Regions from separate parts of the Homo sapiens genome. Here regions 1 and 3 are each linked to region 2. The links are contacts of gene promoters, found by promoter capture Hi-C in human tissues and cell types (Jung and others, 2019). All regions are on one chromosome and are shown on one strand. The core of a region is centred on a gene start or on the middle of the fragment in contact, and the rest is flanking DNA. Distances in the headings are between cores, read along the strand shown. Region 1 overlaps IFNAR2-IL10RB (IFNAR2-IL10RB readthrough). Region 2 holds the start of DNAJC28 (DnaJ heat shock protein family (Hsp40) member C28). Region 3 has its middle 8.8 kb from the start of IFNAR1.

Evidence for each region. Contacts are between HindIII fragments. The study calls those that stand out against the background at their distance.
Region 1: a fragment that was not itself captured here is called in contact with the fragment with the promoter of DNAJC28 in region 2 in 2 of the 25 tissues and cell types used here (IMR-90 fibroblasts and lymphoblastoid cells).
Region 3: a fragment that was not itself captured here is called in contact with the fragment with the promoter of DNAJC28 in region 2 in 2 of the 25 tissues and cell types used here (dorsolateral prefrontal cortex and mesendoderm cells).

Annotation. Positions count from the first base shown.
Region 1 is chr21:33,290,423-33,293,122 of GRCh38, reverse strand. All of the region lies in intron 12 of IFNAR2-IL10RB (IFNAR2-IL10RB readthrough), which reads right to left. All of the region lies in intron 6 of IL10RB (interleukin 10 receptor subunit beta), which reads right to left. Among named protein-coding and RNA genes, the nearest start is that of IL10RB, 25 kb to the right of the region's middle. The HindIII fragment of the contact is 8,664 bases long and covers 1-2,700 here.
Region 2 is chr21:33,490,460-33,493,159 of GRCh38, reverse strand. DNAJC28 (DnaJ heat shock protein family (Hsp40) member C28) reads left to right here and starts at 1,444. Exons shown (of 2, transcript NM_001040192.3): 1 at 1,444-1,558. The HindIII fragment of the contact is 10,582 bases long and covers 1-2,700 here.
Region 3 is chr21:33,314,827-33,317,526 of GRCh38, reverse strand. No RefSeq gene overlaps it. Among named protein-coding and RNA genes, the nearest start is that of IFNAR1, 8.8 kb to the left of the region's middle. The HindIII fragment of the contact is 3,971 bases long and covers 1-2,700 here.

The sequences.
Region 1 (2,700 bases), core at 128-2,627, 200 kb after region 2:
TATTTGAGGGGACCCTTGCAGTGGGGCATGCCAGGACATCCTCTTTAAAGGACCAATTATTGTATCTTGCCCCTCCCACCACTAGGAAGGAAGCATTGTGCTGTGGAGGCCTCAGGGTTCTGGAGGCAGCATGTTCCACGCCTAGGAATACTGACTGTTCCAATATGTTTATCAAACCACACAGGAGGCTGCTGGCACGGAGGGGCCCCAGGCAGGAAAGGGCCCTGCAGAAGGTATGGGCCGTGCAGCCTGCAGCCCTATGCACACCTCAGGACTGGTACATTACCCACCAGGGACGGCCTGTGAATCCAACCTGGGGAATGTGTGACTTCGCATATCCTTGAAGTGTCTGGGGTGGGAAAAGATGCTGGGTGGAGTTTATGGCAAATCCCAAGAGGAAAGTCACAACATAGATACGAGAGTTCTGGGGTCAGGCGGGGCCATCTGCAGCAGATAATTGTACTCTGTTTGAAAAAGCAGCTCCTGGGACGCTATGGGGTCCCGGCAGAGACAGAGCTTCTGACGAGGGACGCGAGGTGATGGTGCTGCCCAGAAGTGACCATCATGAGGCCTGAGACCCAGTAGGTCCTGAGATGGGGTCAGAGGGTGCATGTTGGCCACATGCAGGTGGCTCGGACTCCTGTCCCCTCTACCCCTGTCGCACCGTGTCTGTGTCTGCTCACATGATGACCATAAAGGGGGATGGGTAATTATGCCTAGCAGAAGTAGGAGGAAAGGCCGGCCTGGTTTCATGGCAAGGTTAGCATGGTATGTGGGCACACACCGAAAGTGGCCCGCTGCTGCACTTCAGCCCCAACCAGGGAGAAAGTGTCCCCACGGGCAGAGCTTTGGGCCGTGGGTCTGATCATCACCTTTATGTGGAAAGAAAAGCAGCCCAAGATCAGGCCAGCTGTGGGATCCCAGGCAGGGGTTAGTGACAAGCCTGGTGGTCAGGGGCCCTGGGGAAGGAAGACTGGAAGGTTAGGGACAAGGACGTTTGGGAAGAAGGATGGACCTGAGGGAGTAGCTGGAGCGTGGAGATTTCTGCATCCCATATTAACTCCCACTGAGAGCATGTATCATAGACAGCAGACAGCCAGGGAGACATGATGACACAGCCAGTGGATGTCAGCCAGCCTCTGCCACTGGTCACCTGTACATGGCACAGGGCTCATGAACACAGCAGCCGTGGTGGCAGGGATGGAGGCTGCGCGTGGGCCTGAAAGAAGGGGCTCCCACTCCCACGGCTGGGTAGCCACCACTGCTGTGGAATGTCCAACCTGCCTGCGACAGAGATCAATGCTGAGCCCCTGATATGACGGCATTCCCCGAGGAGACTGACCAGCCACCTGGTAGCAAGCTGATGACGTCGACTCTTGCACCACTCTGGAAGGGGCAGTGGTGCATCCTGGCTGGAGCTAACCTTTAGTTTAGGAGTGATTTGCTGTTCGTGTCCTGCAGGGCCTGTCAGGATTCCCAAGGTTTCACAGGTGTTTTCTCTCCTGGTAGAGGATCCTGTTAGGTGTTGAATTCTGTTCCTACAAAATTCATGTTCTGGGCCAGGCGCTGTGGCTCACGCCTGTAATCCCAGCACTTTGGGAGGCCAGGGCGGGCAGATCACTTGAGGTCAGGAGTTTGAGACCAGCCTGGCCAACATGGGGAAACCCTGTCTCTACTAAAAACACAAAAATTAGCCGGGCGTGGTGGAGGGCACCTGTAATCCCAGCTACTTGGGAGGCTGAGGCAGGAGAATCACTTGAACCCAGGAGGCGGAGCTTGCACTGAGCCGAAATCATGCCACTCCACTCCAGCCTGGGTGACAGAGTGAGACTCCGTCTCCAAAAAAAAAAGAAATTCATATGTCCTAATCCCTCTACCTCAGAATGTGACTGTATTTGGAGATAGGGTTGCTGCAGAGGGGATCAGTTAAGTTAGAATGAGGGTATAGTGGAGCAGGGTGAGCCCTCCTCCCGTGACTGGTGTCTGTATAAAGGAGGGGCAATGTGGACACAGACACTCACATAGGGAGAAGGCTTGTGAAGATCAAGGCAGAGACTGGGTGATGCCTCTAGAAGCCAAGGAACGCCAAAGATCGCCAGCAACCCTCAGAAGTTAGGGTAGAGGCCTGGGACAGATCCTCCCTCACAGCCTCCAAGGAAACCATCCTAGTGACACCTTGATTTTGGACGTCTGGCCTCGAGAACCGTGAGAGAATCAATTCCCGTTGTTACAGCTGCGCAACGAGTGCTACTTTGCTACAGCAGCCCCGACAAACTAGTAGAGACGCCGTATCACATGGTGCCAGACCAATGGGCCCACTGACAGTGAAGGCGGGACCCCCCTGGTCGTATCCCACCCTGCACCACCCAGCAGCTGCCAGACTGGAAGAAGGACGGAGCGGCCTGTTGAAAGTGCAGGGGAGGCGCCAGCTTGGAGATGACACCTGGTGAGGGCAAGGCATTGTCCTCCAGCCCCTGGCATGCACCCAAGACCAACAATCATGTGGGGCTGTGTCCCCAGCAGGTGGAACACCTGCGTCAGGAAGCAAGCGCAGGGCAGGAGTGGCCCTGTTCACCCTCATCATGCCCAGTGACCTACTGGGGAAACCGCTGCTCCCTGGCCTTGTGATTTGAGGCTCTGTGGGTCTAGGGCAGGGCCAGCAAACAAAGGCCCACGGGGCAGATCCGGCCTACCACTTGT
Region 2 (2,700 bases), core at 195-2,694:
AGCAGGTGGGACTACAGGCGCCCGCCACCACACCTGGCTAATTTTTTGTATTTTTAGTAGAGACGGGGTTTCACCGTGTTAGCCAGGATGGTCTCGATCTCCTGACCTCGTGATCCGCCCGCCTCGGCCTCCCAAAGTGCTGGGATTACAGGCGTGAGCACCGCGCCCGGCCAGAAATCCTATTTTCTTTCACATGAGTTATTTTGTTGATTGTTTGCTTATAACTAAAGCCCTCAGAATCAGAGTTTATACTGTATCTTTTTCTGTGTTCCTACATAGATGGCAATAAATGATTCTAATGTTTATGATGTAGAAGCTGAGGAGGCTAATACCTATTTCTGGCTCCTTTTAGGAGACACAGTCATAACAAAAAATATTGCTTAATGTGCGAGGCACAGTGCCAAGTGGTTTACATACATTGTGTAATTCTCCCCCTAAAAAAGTCAATGAAGTTGATACAATTATTATTTCATTATATGTAAAATAGGGAAAATAACAGCATTTATCTCAGAGGGCTGTTGTAAAGATTAAATGAATGCCTGTAATCCCAGCACTTTGAAAGGCCGAGGCAGGCAGATCACCTTAGCTCAGGGGTTCGAGACCAGCCTGGCCAACATGGTGAAACCTGGTCTCCACTAAAAATACAAAAAAATTAGCTGGGCATGGTGGTGCGCGCCTGTAATTCCAGCTACTCGGGAGGCTGAGGCAGGAGAATAGCTTAAACCCGGGAGGTGGAGGTTGCAGCGAGCCGAGATCGCGCCACCACACTCCAGCCTGGGCGACAGAGCGAGACTCTGTCTCAAAAAAAAAAAAAAAAAAGTAAATGAGAATATACATAAAGCACTTAGCACAATGGCATACTATTTACTATAGTTTACTATTTATTGCAACTCTCATTTTGCAGGTATCTTGCCTAAGGTGCAAGCAGAAGAAACAGGATTTTCAACCCAGATCTGAAAACTCCCAAGCCTCTGCCTTTTTCTTTTTATCCTTTTTCTTTTTCCTTGTTAAAAAACTTGCTTCCTGTACAGAGAGGGGAAATGCTCAGTCCCCACGTCAGTGGTTGAACTCCAAGCCAGAAGATCCCTATTTTGATTTTGTCCTCTGGCCTGTCGCCAGCCCCTCAACAGTACTTGAATTAATAAAAGGGCAGGTTTTAAGCCTCATGTATCTGCGCAGGTGACTCCTTCTGTGACCCCGAATAAACCTGTTCCGGTCCCGTTCCGGGGAAACAGCCTTGCCTTCCCCTGCCCCCAGAAAGTTACCCTCGCCCTCCGAGCCACAACTCCCCACGCCGCCAACTCGGTCTTTACATCATTTTCGACGCCCCCTAAGTCCCTCCCGAGAGGCGCAGGCGCACATCGCCCCTTCTAGCGAACTACATCTCCCACAATCCCAATCGGCCGGACCACCTCCGCTCGGGGCGGGGACGGAGGTGGAGCTGGTGGTCCCCGGTCGGGACGAAGGCTCCCGAGGTGCCCTGCCTGGGTCCTCCGGGGTAAAGTTCGTTTGGCGGAAGATTGTCCGTTTTCCTGGTAAGGTCACCTGTCCCAATCAGGTACGATTCTGCCTTCCGTACCCCCGAGCCCCTCAGTGTAAAGTGGCAAATGGTCTAGCCCGGCGGAGGCACCAGCTGGAGGCGGTGGGAGGGACACCCGCAGTGAAGGGCGGACCGCGCACGCATGCGCAGAGGCGCGGCAGGGGGGCGGGAGCCGCGGAACCCCTACCCCAGGTCTGCGCAGGTGAGGAGGGGGCGGGGCAGGACCGACCTCCCTTGCCATGATAACCACCTTCGCAGCCGGCTCCCAGACCGTTGGCACCGATTGCCTAGAAAATAGGGGGTCTCAGGAGCTCCGTTTTAGCGTTTATATATCCCAATTCCAATTAAGCCACTTCCAGTATTTTTTGGCCATTGTCAGTGTACAAGTCTTCCTCCTCTTCGAGACCATGTTATTGCAATAGCAGCAAACGTGTTGGGAGGCCTCACAATTCATCATGGTTTTTCTGGCCTCTGGCAGATAGCTCCTTCCTAGCGAGCTGTGGAGCTTAAAGTCTTTTGGACACTTGATTCTATTCAATCCAGTATCAGACCAGGTACGTACCTTGTCCATAAGTCGTCTTATGAGAAGACTTCTTGAGATGATGCAGACTCTCGTGCAGTTTATAATCGGCTGGAGGTATAGACAGTTAAGCAAGCCTCCTTTTTTACTGTGCCCACCCCTAACCATTTTGCTTACACCTTGTTATGGGACTTGGTTAAATTGCTTAACCTTCCGGACCTACGTTTTCTCATTAAATGAGAAGATTGGATTAGATGATCTCTAAGAACTTTCCACTTGTAAAATATACGGTTAGTTAGTGAGGGGTAGAATCCAGATTCTATCTATCTATATTTTTTTGAGACAGAGTCTCACTCTGTTGCCCAGGCTGGAGTGCAGTGGCACGATCTCGGTTCACTGCAACCTCCACCTCCCGGGTTCAAGCGATTCTCTTGCCTCAGCCTCCCGAGTAGCTGGGACTGCAACCTCCAGTTAATTTTTGTATTTTTAGTAGAGACAGGGTTTTGCCATGTTAGCCAGGCTGATCTCGAACTCCTGACCTCAGGTGATCCACCCACCTCGGCCTCCTAAAGTACTGGGATTACAGGCGTGTGCCACCGTGCCTGGCCCCACAATATGTTAACACTAAACTTCATCAGCT
Region 3 (2,700 bases), core at 96-2,595, 180 kb after region 2:
GAAAAAGTCGTTCCTTGGGTATTTCACTTTTGGAAAAAGACATGTTAGAAACATCTGTGCTTTAGAGCATGTTTCCATATGATTACGTGGCAGATTTCCCACACTGTGAAATTGAACTCTTGTTTCTTCGCATTGTCAGCCGTATTTGCTATACACAGTCCAACACTATTGCTGACTGAGGAATGTATTTTAGTTTGTCATATTGTAGAAAGAAGAACAAGGGGCATGTGGCTTTTTGTCTTTTGCTATTAAGAACCCCCAAAGCAGTTTCTAAACACTGTCACCAATTACGAAATTTTGTAAAGAACCAAAACGAATGAGTATCATATGACTTTAAACACTCTTGGAAAGAAATTGTGGGGGTTTGCTTTTCTGGAAAATGTCTTCCTAATGTGATGGCTTCATACTGTGATTAGCTAATATGTCAAGGCTGCTGTTATCTTATTCACTTGTGTATTAATAGTACTATCTTTAATTTCCAATTTATTTGCAAGAATCTTGTCACATCCATTTTGTGAGCATTAATTTAGTTAAAACTAGCTAACGACCTGTAAACACACATCAAGCCAAGTAAATGGTTAGACATAATCACAAACTCCAAAAGTGTACAAGCAGAAGCATCGCTGCGCATTTCCACCTTGTGAGTTTCTCACTCTGTTCTCAAGTGTGTCACACATCACTGAATGTGACAATGTGATGCTCTGGCATTTGGACCAAGTGAAGGTGCTTGTGCTAGGTTATATATCAAATATCAAAAGCTTAATTTATTTCTTATTAAAGAATGTAAATAGAATTTCACTGCACTTCGGTGGACCCTGTAATCCAACGCAAACCCCTAGGGTGGGTGCACCCTGGATTAGAAATCACTGCTTTAGAACCTTCCAGAAGAATAAATTCACTTCTTTCTGGGAGGAGAGTTTGGTAGATGAAAGGAGAAGAGTCCTAGCTGAGTAGCAGCCCAGTGGCACAGACTTTGAGGGTGTACAAACACTAGCTCCAGGATGTTCAGGAAGGAATCTGAGCCGTTCTACTCTGGAATCTCCAGAATGTCTTTCTCCTTGGTGCTTTATCATCCTATACATTTCCTCATCCCAGTAGGCAGGCAATTCAGTAAAAGATAGTAGTGAAGCTGGCACAGTGGCTCACACCTGTAATCCCAGCATTTTGAGAGGCTGCAGCAAGAGGATCACTTGAGCCCAGGAGTTTGAGACCAGCCTGGACAACAAAGAGAGACCCCCATATCTGCAAAAAATACAATTAGTTGGATGAGGTGGCAGAGGCCTGTGGTCCTAGCTACTCAGGAGGCTGAGCCTGGAGAATCGCTTGAACTCCAGGAAGTCAAGGCTACAATGAGCCGTGATCACACCACTGCACTCCAGCCTGGGTGACAGAGTGAGATGCTATTTCAAAATAGTAATAATGATGATGATGAAGCAAACGGTGGGAACACTAAACTAGTTTAGTGGTGAGGGATACACATTGCAGCAGGTGACCTGCAGTAAGAGATGTTTAAGGGGAGGCAGAGTATAAGTAGGAGATAGGAAAAGAAGAGGGATACAGCATTCTAAATAAAGGGAACAGCATATTTGAAGGTCTAGTCTGTGTTCACATGGCTTGAGGAAAGATTGAGTGTGGCTGCATGCTCACTGCATACTGAGAAAGATGTCTGTTTTTAAGCAGTAACATGGAAGACAGCCATACGCCTTTTCAAGTGGTAACTAAGTATCTCTTAAACAGAGACTGGCCTACTGGTTAAGAGTCTGAGTTCTGAAGTTGACTTAGGTTGCTATCCCACCTCCGTCACTCTGGGATCTTGGGCAAGTTACTTAATCTTTTTTCCTGCTTCCTCATGGGGACTATAATAATATCTATATCATAGTGGTGTGATGAATTTTTAATCAGTTAATGCACACCAAGAGCTTAGTTTAGTGTCTGGCACAGTGTGCTCAGTAATTTTGGTTATTTTTTTCTGACCATCGTGGTTACTGTTTTTCCTACTTCAGGAGGGCTCAGAGGGAAGATCTAGTTTTTCTGGAGAAAACCTGAAGGATCAAATAGCCCCAATGATCAAAACTTCATAGTCTGCAACCTCAATTGAGCTGAAATTAAAAACCTACACTTACTTCACATCTCTACCCTACAGCTTTTCTTCTCATTTTCAACAGATGTTCCTCCACCCAGCTCCTAGTTTCTTGGAAAATACAGTCAACAGATCAGGTTTCAGCTCTCCATCACCAAAACTTCAAACTCACCTGCACCTGCTTCCATTCTGTCTTTCCCTGTCGTTGGGAAGACATCCTTCTTTCAGTCAAATGAAAATCTCTCTGTCTGGTTCCGTGAGCCACCCCTTCATAGGGATGGCTATCCGTTGATTATTTTTACGTTTTTTCATGACTTTATCTCCTCTCTTTAGTTTCTTCTTGTTAACAGTTACACATTCTCAAGTCTCTCCCAATTTAAAAAGGCGTATATGCTGCTTTCACTCCAGAAGCCGTCCTTCCTGTTATTATTCGTAGCCAAATCTGTCTACATTTGTCCACAACTATCTTTGTTTTCTCACTTATGTATTCCTCAGCCCACTGAGCTTATCTTTCTGTCCCGTTTTGCTTATTCTCTTCTCACCCAGATCATCAGCTAATTTCTAGTATTCAGATCTATTAGACATTTTATAGCCTTGATTTTACTTGACTTCTCCATAGC